Regions from separate parts of the Homo sapiens genome. Here region 2 is linked to region 1. The links are contacts of gene promoters, found by promoter capture Hi-C in human tissues and cell types (Jung and others, 2019). All regions are on one chromosome and are shown on one strand. The core of a region is centred on a gene start or on the middle of the fragment in contact, and the rest is flanking DNA. Distances in the headings are between cores, read along the strand shown. Region 1 holds the start of MAML1 (mastermind like transcriptional coactivator 1). Region 2 overlaps TBC1D9B (TBC1 domain family member 9B).

Region 1 (5,313 bases), core at 157-2,656:
TAGTTACTATTTTTTCTATTAAGAAATAGTTTAGTTCTGGTGTAAAATTTGTTTGAATGCTAAAAAAAAAAAAGCAGGACTGCATTATGGCACTTTTGCCTTGGTGGCCCACTTTCTCCATTTAAAACATTAGGATTTGTATTTTTCTGCTGCGTTTGTATGAAGACATATTTGATTGTTGTTTTCTCTTGATTTTAAAATAAAACCTCATGAGCCCTAGTAAAAAGCTAGAGTAACGAATGTTTGAACTACTGATGGTGTATCTCAATGTGCAGCCTCCTGCCACCTCCTGCTTAACCTTTTAGCAATTAGAGTGCCCATATCTAGAGTTCCTGATATCCTTTGGCATCACACTATCTAGTTTTAGTACTAACACTGTTTGATTGCTCCAGTCCCTCTACTCCCCTTTGCCTATTAGTTTTAATAATGGGGCATAATTTGTCTTGGTTTGGTTTTGTTGAGTAACTCAGTTTTACCTAAAGGACTGTTTTTGGTCCGGCGCGGCGGCTCACGCCTGTAATCGCGGTACTTTGGCAGGCCGAGGTGGGCGGATCACCTGAGGTCAGGAGTGGGAGACCAGCCTGACCGACATGGAGACACCCCGTCTCTACTAAAAATACAAAATTAGCCGCGCGTGGTGGCGCATGCCTGTAATCCCAGCTACTGGAGAGGCTGAGGCAGGAGAATCGCTTGAGCCTGGAAGGCGGTGGTTGTGGTGAAACGTCGTCCTTTGCATTTCCAGTTCCCTCTAATGGAGCTGCACTCTTGCATGCTTTTGCTCACATCTTCTGGACTTTTTTTTTAAGTAGTGAGTAATACTGCACTTTTGAAACTTGCTCGGGCTTTTACAAATAGGTGGAAACTACCAGTGATTCGGAATGTTGCAAGAGGAAACTACCAGCTCACTAGACGATTCTGACCAATTATGGGGCTGGATACAAGGAATAAGGTCAAAGTAAAACGGCTGACATTAAAATAGCGTGGCTACTTAGAGTTTATCAAAGTCGAAATTTAAAAAATAATTTAAAAAAAAGGTCTCTGTACTGCCAGGCGGGCGACAGGGACTGGCCAGCTGCGCCGCACTCGCCTGCCAGATTCCCCTTTTCTCGGGGTAGCCGGAAGGGCCTGCCTTCAGCGGGTGCTGTGCAGGAAACCAATAGCCGCCTCTTGGACGGGCTCCTGTCAGTCACGCTTAGCTCCGCCCCCAGGATTAAGGCCCGCCCAGGGGCTTCCCTCCGCCCTTCGCTTGAGAATTCCTTTTAAATACCGCTCTGGCGCCCGAGCGCGCCTCTTGCGTGCTCGTCCCCACGCCCTCGGGCGGCCGGTTCTTCCTTCTCTGATTGGCCAGGGCCCCTGCTCATCAGTCGTGATGCACAAGGTCTCTTACCGAGGCCCCGCCTTCTTCCGAGAGGCCCGAAAACAATTTTAAGATGGCGGCCGCGGCGGTAGCGCGGAAAACAATGGGGCCGGGGCGGTGGGGAGAGGCCGAGGCTTGAGGTAGGCAGCAAGCGCCGGCTGGGGGTCGGGCCGAGCGGGGCAGGAGGAAAACCCGCCGCCGCGCGCGAGCCCGCTCCGCTGCCCTCGGGGGCATGGCGCGGCCGTGAGGCGGAGAGGGGTAGCCGCGGGGAGCGAAGCCCGCAGTGCCAGCCGGCCCCGAGAGGCCCGGCCCCGGGCCCGGCCCGTGCAGCCCGCGGCCCATGGTGCTGCCCACCTGCCCCATGGCGGAGTTCGCGCTGCCGCGGCACAGCGCGGTCATGGAGCGCCTTCGCCGGCGCATCGAGCTGTGCCGGCGCCACCACAGCACCTGCGAGGCCCGCTACGAGGCCGTGTCGCCCGAGCGCCTGGAGCTGGAGCGCCAACACACCTTCGCCCTGCACCAGCGCTGCATCCAGGCCAAGGCCAAGCGCGCCGGGAAGCACAGGCAGCCGCCCGCCGCCACGGCCCCGGCGCCCGCCGCCCCGGCCCCGCGCCTGGACGCCGCTGACGGCCCCGAGCACGGCCGCCCGGCCACGGTGAGTAGGGCGCGGGAAGGCGCTTGTCGTGGCGGCAGCCCCCTCTCCCGAAAACGCTTCCTCTGACGCGGATCGGGCCGCTGGGAGACTTCCCCAGGCGTCCGCGACTCCTGGATCTGGCTGGAGAGAGGGTAACATGGCAGGGAGCTGAGAGGTTGTCATCTTTGGGAAGTGGCACGGTGGCGTTACTTTGGGAAAACAGCGCCTTGAGGGCCTTGCAGGAGGCCCGACCTGGGAAGGCTGGCGAACGCTAACCGGAGGGTTTTTCTTCCAGACTTGATTCCGGGATGTTGAGATCTTTATTCGAAATAGACTAGCATTCGAGTCGCCTGTGATGGAGGGAGTTCCTGCACCGTAGGCCTGGCCTCATTTATTCTGCAAATGTTTATTGGGTCCTTGCCCTTTACAAGATCCTGTGCTGTGAGCAGGATCAGGGCTTTCATGTGGAAATAAGTCGGCCTTTGGTTGACCAACTGAAACTCCTCTGAATGGAAAATCAAGAAATTTTTGGAAAACTTAGTAAAATGTTCAATGAGTTGCATATAAGTATTCCTTGTTTAGGTAGCCTGAACTTTGTGAACTTGAGATTCCTGCAATATTGTTGACAATTCTAGTTTTAATTTATCAGGCCTGTTTAAAATCTCTGATGATGTTAGATTGTTGGTCAATTATTACTCCCTTTGGGCTCTCAGTAAATGTTCCTGAAATTTGTTGGTTAGAGGTTTTTCTTCCTGAAACAGATTTACAAAAGAGACAAGGTTTTTCAGTGGTTTTCTTGGGGATTTTAGTTTAAAACCAATGTTAAAATCTAATTTGTTATGTGTATTTTTAAATTCATACCTTTATTATCTCTCACCTGGGCTATTGCAGTGCCTGTCCCTAGCTAACTAACCAGTCTGTAGGCATTTAGTTTCTTTCTCCCTTATTCTCGAAATGCTGGAAATCCTTCTCTTGCTTGAAAGGATGAAGTTCAAAGTCTTTAGTTTGGCATTTGGGACCAGTCTGACCTAACCTATCTTTTAATGTCCCTCACAGGTCCTCTGCTCTGGTTGAATTATTTTTCTCATTCTCTTCCACACTAGCCTCGATTGCTGGGTTAGAAGAAAAAAAACCACTCAGATTTCATTGCTTATTGTATCAACTGGTCAAGCCTTCTCATCTTCACTTTTCTCATCTGTAAACTAGGGGCATGTTGGGCTTATTATCGCCCCGTGTTCTTTCCCTGCCCTCCCCTCACTCTGTCGCCCAGGCTGGAGTGCAGAGGCACAGTCATGTCTCACTGCAGCCTCAACCTTCCTGGCTCAAGACTCCTCAATCCTCCCGCCTCAGCCTCCTCAGTCCTCCCGCCTCAGCCTCCTGAGTAACTGGGATCAACCACAGCTGCACATCACCATGCCTGGCTAAATAAAAAAAGTTTTTTTTCTGTTAGAGATGGGGTCTCACTATATTGCCTAGGCTGGTCTTGAACTCCTGGGCTCAAGTGATCCTTTCTTCCAACTTGATCTCTGAAAGTGCTGAGATTATAGGCATGAGCCACCGCACCGTGCCGCCCCCAGGATTCTTTTAAGAATAAAAAGAAATGAGTGTGGACATGAAAATACAGTATTTCGGGGGAAGGGATAGCATTGGGAGATATACCTAATGCTAGATGACGAGTTAGTGGGTGCAGCGCACCAGCATGGCACATGTATACGTATGTAACTAACCTGCACATTGTACACATGTACCCTAAAACTTAAAGTATGATAATAATAAATAAATAAATAAAATACAGTATTTCATAAATTTAAAGGCCGCCTGTGGGACCCTCCTCCATCCCTTTCAGAATCCTGCCACCCTGCCAGTCCCAGCTTATCTCTTTCTTCTGCCTTAAAGCTAGTTCCTGACCAGCCTAACCCACAGCAGTAAGAATCTCCTTTGTCAAAACATTTAGGAAACATATTATCTATGCTATTTGTTTTATTTATTTATTTATTTTGAGATGGAGTCTTGCCCTGTTGCCCAGGCTGGAGTGCAATGGCGCGATCTAGGGTCACAGCAATCTCCGCCTCCCAGGTTCAAGTGATTCTCCTGCCTCAGCCTCCCTACTAGCTGGGATTACAGGTGCTGGCCACCATGCCCAGCTAATAATTTTTGTATTTTTAGTAGAGATGGGGTTTCACCATGTTGACCAGGCTGGTCTCGAACTCCTGACCTCAGATAATCCACCCACCTCGGCCTCCCAAAGTGCTGGGATTACAGGTGTGAGCCACTGCACCTAGCCTATTTATTTTTTTTTGAGACAGCGTCTCGCCCTGTCACCCAGGCTGGAGTGTAGTGACATGATTTCTGCTCACTGCAACCTCTGCCTCCCCGGTTCAAGCGATTCTCCTGCCTCAGCTTCCTGAGTAGCTGGGATTACAGGCGCACACTACCACGCTTGGCTTATTTTGGTATTTTTAGTAGAGACAGGGTTTCTCCTTGTTGGGCAGGCTGGTCTCGAACCCCTGACCTCGTGATCCACCCACCTCGGCCTCCCAAAGTGCTGGGATTACAGGCGTGAGCCACCGCGCCCGGCCTATGCTATTTATTTTTAGCACATGGTCACTTGTTACTTTAGGTCGCATCTTTTCAACTAGACTGTCAGCTCTTGGAGGCAGGGAGGGCTCACACTTGGGTAGTACACATCTGAGGTGCATCTTAAGTGCCTGTTTGTTGAATTATTGATAGAAACTTGGTAGTGCTTTACTCAGTAATCTCTCCTCCTATACACTAACTTCAAAAAGCAAGTTGATGTAACTTCATGAGCCACCTTTCATGGCTCATAGTAACAACTCTTGTAAGGAGGGACTTTTGTTATTTTTTTTTAGGGAGTTTCGCTTTGTCGCCAGGCTGGAGTGCAATGGTGCCATCTTGGCTCACTGCAACCTCCGCCTCCCAGGTTCAAGCAATTCCCCTGCCTCAGCCCCCCAAGTAGCTGGGACTACAGGCTTGTGCCACCACGCTCCCCTAATTTTTTGTATTTTAGTAGAGACGGGGTTTCACCATGTTGGCCAGGATGGTCTCGATCTCCTGACCTTGTGATCCTCCCGCACTGGCCTCCCAAAGTGCTGGGATTACAGGCATGAGCCGCCACGCTTGGCCTGTGTAAGGAAGGACTTTTAAGAGTAGTTCGTGGTCATTGCAATTGAAGTAAATAATGAAAGCTCATAAAAATCATAGTTTAATACACAAATAGTTGCCTTGAATCCTCCCTAGAAAGTATATTAGGGGGGCCGGGAGCAGTGGTTGACTCCTGTAATCCCAGCACTTTGGGAGGCAG
Region 2 (4,829 bases), core at 1,388-3,887, 150 kb after region 1:
CTTGAAAGAGATGCTTAATCTCACTGTCTCCTTTCCCCCTTTCAAGTTTTTTTCCCTGTTAGAAAGTGTATATTTATACTGTAACATTTTATGCTAATATCATTATATAGTTTCTTAGTCCTCTCTTTTTAAGATGTCAGTTCCCTACTACAAGCAATATTGAAATTAGCTAGCAGGCCTTTTCTTCCCACTTTCCTCCCTCTCTGCCAACATCTGATCAAAAGGATATATTTTTAATTAATAAGGCAATCAGTGAGCTTATTCTATTTTCCATATCTTTCCATATACCTTCCGTTTTTTTTTTTTTTTTGAGATGGAGTCTTGCTCTGTCACCCAGGCAGGAGTACAGAGGTGTGATCTCAGCTCACTGCAACCTCTGCCTCCTGGGCTCAGGCAATTCTCCTGCCTCAGGTTCCCAAGTAGCTGGGATTACAGGTGTGTGCCACCATGCCCGGCTAATTTTTGTATTTTTAATAGAGACGAGGTTTCACCATATTGGCCAGGCTGGTCTCAAACTCCCAACTTCAGGTGACCCGCCTGCCTCGGCCTCCCAAAGTGTTGGGATTACAGGCATGAGCCATCAAGCCCAGCCTCATATACCTCCCTAACCTCAGGTTTTGATTGTACTATGTCTCCATCATCAGAGATTATAACATTTATATACTGTCACCTCTATTCCTACTATCTAACCTTAATTCCACAGCTAAATATAATCAATGCTACCACCAGTCGTTAGGCCCAAGCTGCTTCCATCACTCCTTGGTTATCTGGAGTCTGTTCTCCAGCAGACTCCACAGAAGCTGAGAGAGCCCCTGAACTCCTCTGCATGTTCTTTACAGCCTATGGTCTTTATACCTGAACGTCAGTTTGGCTGGGTATAAAATCCCTGGGTCACAGCTTCTTTTATTGTATATCTTAAAAATGTTACTCTGTATAATCTCAGCACTCTGGGAGGCTGAGGCAGGTGGATCACCCTAGGTCAGGAGTTCGAGATCAGTCTGGCCAACATGGTGAAATCTCAACCCCATCTCTACAAAAAATACAAAAATTAGCCAGGCATGGTGGCACATACACGTAGTCCCAGCTACTCACGGGCCTGAGGCACAAGACTGCTTGAACCTGGGAGGCAGAGGTTGCAGTGAGCCGAGATTGTGCCACTGCACTCCAGGAGACACCCTCCCCAACCCCCAACAAAAAGTTACTCTAAAATGTTGTTACTGTATCACAAAGTCTGATACCTCTCTTGAGGAGGAATCTCTCAGGATCGTGGCCCATTGCAACCTCCTTCTCCCACCTCCTGGGTTCAAGTGATTCTTGTGCCTCAGCCTCCCAAGTAGCTGTGATTCCAGGCATGTGCCACTATACCTAGCTTAGTTTTGTATTTTTAGTAGAGACAGAGTTTCACCATGTTGGCCAGGCTGGTTTTGAACTTCTGGCCTCAAGTGATCTGCCTGCTTCAGCCTCCCAAAGTGCTGGGATTACAGGTGTGAGCCACTGTGCCCAGCCTGGAATAATTTTTTAATCTTTAAAATTGAACAGTTTTATGAGATTTTATGTCAATATCGACTATTTTGTGTTGATTTTTCTAGACATTCAATGTGTCCTTCCACTATACAAGTTCAAGCTTATTTTATCAGTTTTCCTGAATCACAGTTTCTATTATCTGTTATTCCACTGCTTTTTTCTGGGAAGGGTGTGGGATGGCACTACGATTATACGTAAGTTTGATCTTCTTTGCCTAACTTCTTTATCCCTTCTCTGGACAACTTCTTCTCTATTTGTTTGAGTCTCCTCTGACTCCATTTTTCTCCTATCTCTTCCTTATTTACCTTAATGTATTTTCATTCTTGTGTTCCTGATTTTCATTTCAGAAATATCTGGTTTTTTTTTTCTTATTTCCTCCTGAGTCCTGTCAACTCTCTTCATATTTTTCTGTTGACTAGTCACTTTTAACCTGAGCTTTTTAAACATTTTTAATTTATACCATTCTTTAGTAGTTTCTGTCGTTTTTCTAATTCCTTTGAGATCACTCAGAAACATCAGGACACAGTTTTCATCTGCCTGGAGGAATGTTTTTCTGGTGTGCTTTCATTATCTGTGGGAGGTTATCTGGTTCACTTTCTCCCCGCAATATCTTTGTACAGGGTGTGATCAGCATCTTTTCCTGTTCTTTCAGCAGGATGTTCTACGTACGGGCAGTTGTGGGTCAGAGTAGCTTTCTGAACTCCACAGCTGGAGAGGCCTTTCCCCTGCTGTGGTCGGTCTGTGTAGTCCTTGCTCCTGTACTTTCTGGGATTGGCCACCTCTTTCTTGTATCTAAAGCTTTTCTCCTTTACCCCAAGTGTTCCTGCTCTGTTCAATCCCAGTCCTTTTTTTCTTGGGGTGAGCTCTTGTCTTTCAGAAGAGAAGTTTTTGTTAAGGGCATGGGTTTCCCTCACATTCTTGATCTTTCCTCAGCCGTATAATACGTCAGGCAGCGATAAGGCTGTGGGTAGAAATAAAGCAGGATTTTGTGCTTCCATTAATAAAAAAAAGCCTCCTCTATAAACTGGAGCCTGAGAAATCGGCTCCCAATTTCACTGGCTGTCTCTCAGATTCACTTGTTGAGGTTTCCATTTGCTGAGTAGTCTCTTGTGAGGGGTATTCTGGTGACTTCTGGATTCCTTGGCTCTTAGGACTATCAGAGCCCCTCTTCCTTCCCGCCATTGCCTCAGCACAGCTACTGGCTCTGTGTCTGCACAGAGTCATGCCACAGTTGGTGGTCTGGCCTCCAACTGTGGTGCACAGTTGGTGGATAGAGCATAGCACGGAGGTTCCTTGAAATATTAAAAATAGAACTGCTATACAATCCAGCAATTCCACTCCAGGGTATGTCCCCAAAAGAACTGAAAGTAAAGATTCAAACAGACATCTGTACACCCATGTTCACAGCAGTGTTACTCATAATAGCCATGAGGTGGAAGCAGTCCAAGTTTCAACAGTGAACAAAACGTGGCTTATCCATACAATGGCATATGATTCAGCCTTAAAAAAGAAATCTTGAGCACGCTACAACAGGGATGAACCTGGAGGACATCACGCTGAATGAAATAAGCCAGGCACAAAAGGGAAAATACTATATGCTTCCACTTATGTGCATTACCTAGAATAGTTCAATTCAAGTCAAAAAGGTAGAATGGTGCTTGCCAGGGGCTGGGGGAGTGGGGGCTGAGGAGTTACTGTTTAATGGGTTCAGAGTTTCAGTTTTGCAAAACTGAAAAAGTTCTGTGGATGGATGGTGGTGATGGCATAGCAATGTCAATGTACTTAATGGTAAATGTTGTTATGTGTATTTTATCACAATAGCGTCTCCTGAATCTGACCCCTTCTTACACCTACACTGTTCCTACCCTTGATGCTCGACTCCATCATCTTGTGCCCCTGCTTCTGTGATGGGCTCCAGCCGGCCTCCTTGCTTCTATTCTTGCCACTCTCTAGTCCAGCACTGCCCAAGAGAGATGATGAGAGCCACAAATGTAATTGTAAATTTTCTAGTAGCCACATTGTAAAGTCCTAAAGTAAATTATTGAGATTAATTTTAACAATATATTTGACTTAATCCAATATATCCAAAATACTCGCATTTCAACAGGAATCAATTAAAAAATGATGGAGTGGCCAGGCACGGTGGCTCACCCCTGTAATCCCAGCACTTTGGGAGGCTGAGGCAGGTGGATCGCCTGAGGTCAGGAGTTCAAGACCAGACTGGCCAACATGGCAAAAACCCGTCTCTACTAAAAATACAAAATAAGCCGGGCGTGGTGGTGGACGCCTGTAATCCCAGCTACTCGGGAGGCTGAGGCAGGAGAATCACTTGAACCTGGGAGGCAGAGGATGCAGTGAGCCAAGACTGCCCCACTGCACTCCAGCCTAGGTGACAGAGCAAGACTCTGTCCCCCCCCCAAAAAAAAAAAGATGGAGGTATTTTACGTTTTTCTTTTCATACGAAGTCTCCAAAACCCGTGTACAGTGATCTGAACACTCACAGCACATTTCCATTGGCACCCGCTGGATTTCCAGTGCTCCATGGCCACACGTGGCTGCTGTACTAGACGGGGCACCTCTAATCCACTGTCAACATGGACGGCCACAGTAACCCCATTAACACGTAAACAGGTCGTGCCCTCCTCTGGTCATGACTCTTCACTGGCTTCCCCTCTCACCTGAAGTCAAAGCTGCAGCACTCACAGGGCCTACGGGCTTTCGGTGACTTGGCCTTCTGCCACCTCTCTGGTCTCACCTCCTACACCTGGTCAGTCTCCTAAGCCCTGGTCCCAGAAGCCCGTGCCACATCCAATCCTGTCTCCCAGCTTGCTGTGCTCTCTGCCTCCAACACCCTGCCCCAGACAGGCTATGGCTAGTTCCCCTGCTTCTTTCGAGTTTCTCCTCCAGTGCTGCCTGATCAGAGAGGTTGCCCATGAGCAACAGAGAGAAAATGGAGCCCCCTTCTTTCCCCTGGCACTCCTGATCCCCTCATCCTGCTTTATTTCTACCCACAGCCCTTATCACTGCCTGACATATTGTATGTTTATTTGCTTACTGCCTCCCTCACTGGAATACAGCTCTAAGTGAACAGGCACTCTGTCCGATGTGTTCACTGTTCTACTCCTGGGGCCTAGAATAGCAGCTGGCACCTAACAGGAATGCAATAAAATGTGTTTGGATGCATGAAGCCGAGTGCCTGGGAGGGGCCGTGAGTGGTGCTTACTCAGCTTTCAGGAAGTGTGGGGCCTCATGGAGGCAGAGGAGGCTCGACCACCCTGTTCACTGCCCCTGCCACTCAATCCAAC

Evidence for each region. Contacts are between HindIII fragments. The study calls those that stand out against the background at their distance.
Region 2: a fragment that was not itself captured here is called in contact with the fragment with the promoter of MAML1 in region 1 in 1 of the 25 tissues and cell types used here (aorta).

The regions. Positions count from the first base shown.
Region 1 is chr5:179,731,416-179,736,728 of GRCh38, forward strand. MAML1 (mastermind like transcriptional coactivator 1) reads left to right here and starts at 1,407. Exons shown (of 5, transcript NM_014757.5): 1 at 1,407-2,012. The coding sequence starts at 1,698. It overlaps CANX (calnexin), which reads left to right. Exons shown (of 15, transcript NM_001746.4): 15 at 1-226. RefSeq lists enhancers at 950-1,049, 1,811-2,311 and silencers at 1,500-1,699, 1,940-1,999. The HindIII fragment of the contact is 20,196 bases long and covers 1-5,313 here.
Region 2 is chr5:179,881,653-179,886,481 of GRCh38, forward strand. The region is part of intron 7 of TBC1D9B (TBC1 domain family member 9B); the gene reads right to left. Among named protein-coding and RNA genes, the nearest start is that of TBC1D9B, 24 kb to the right of the region's middle. The HindIII fragment of the contact is 4,139 bases long and covers 569-4,707 here.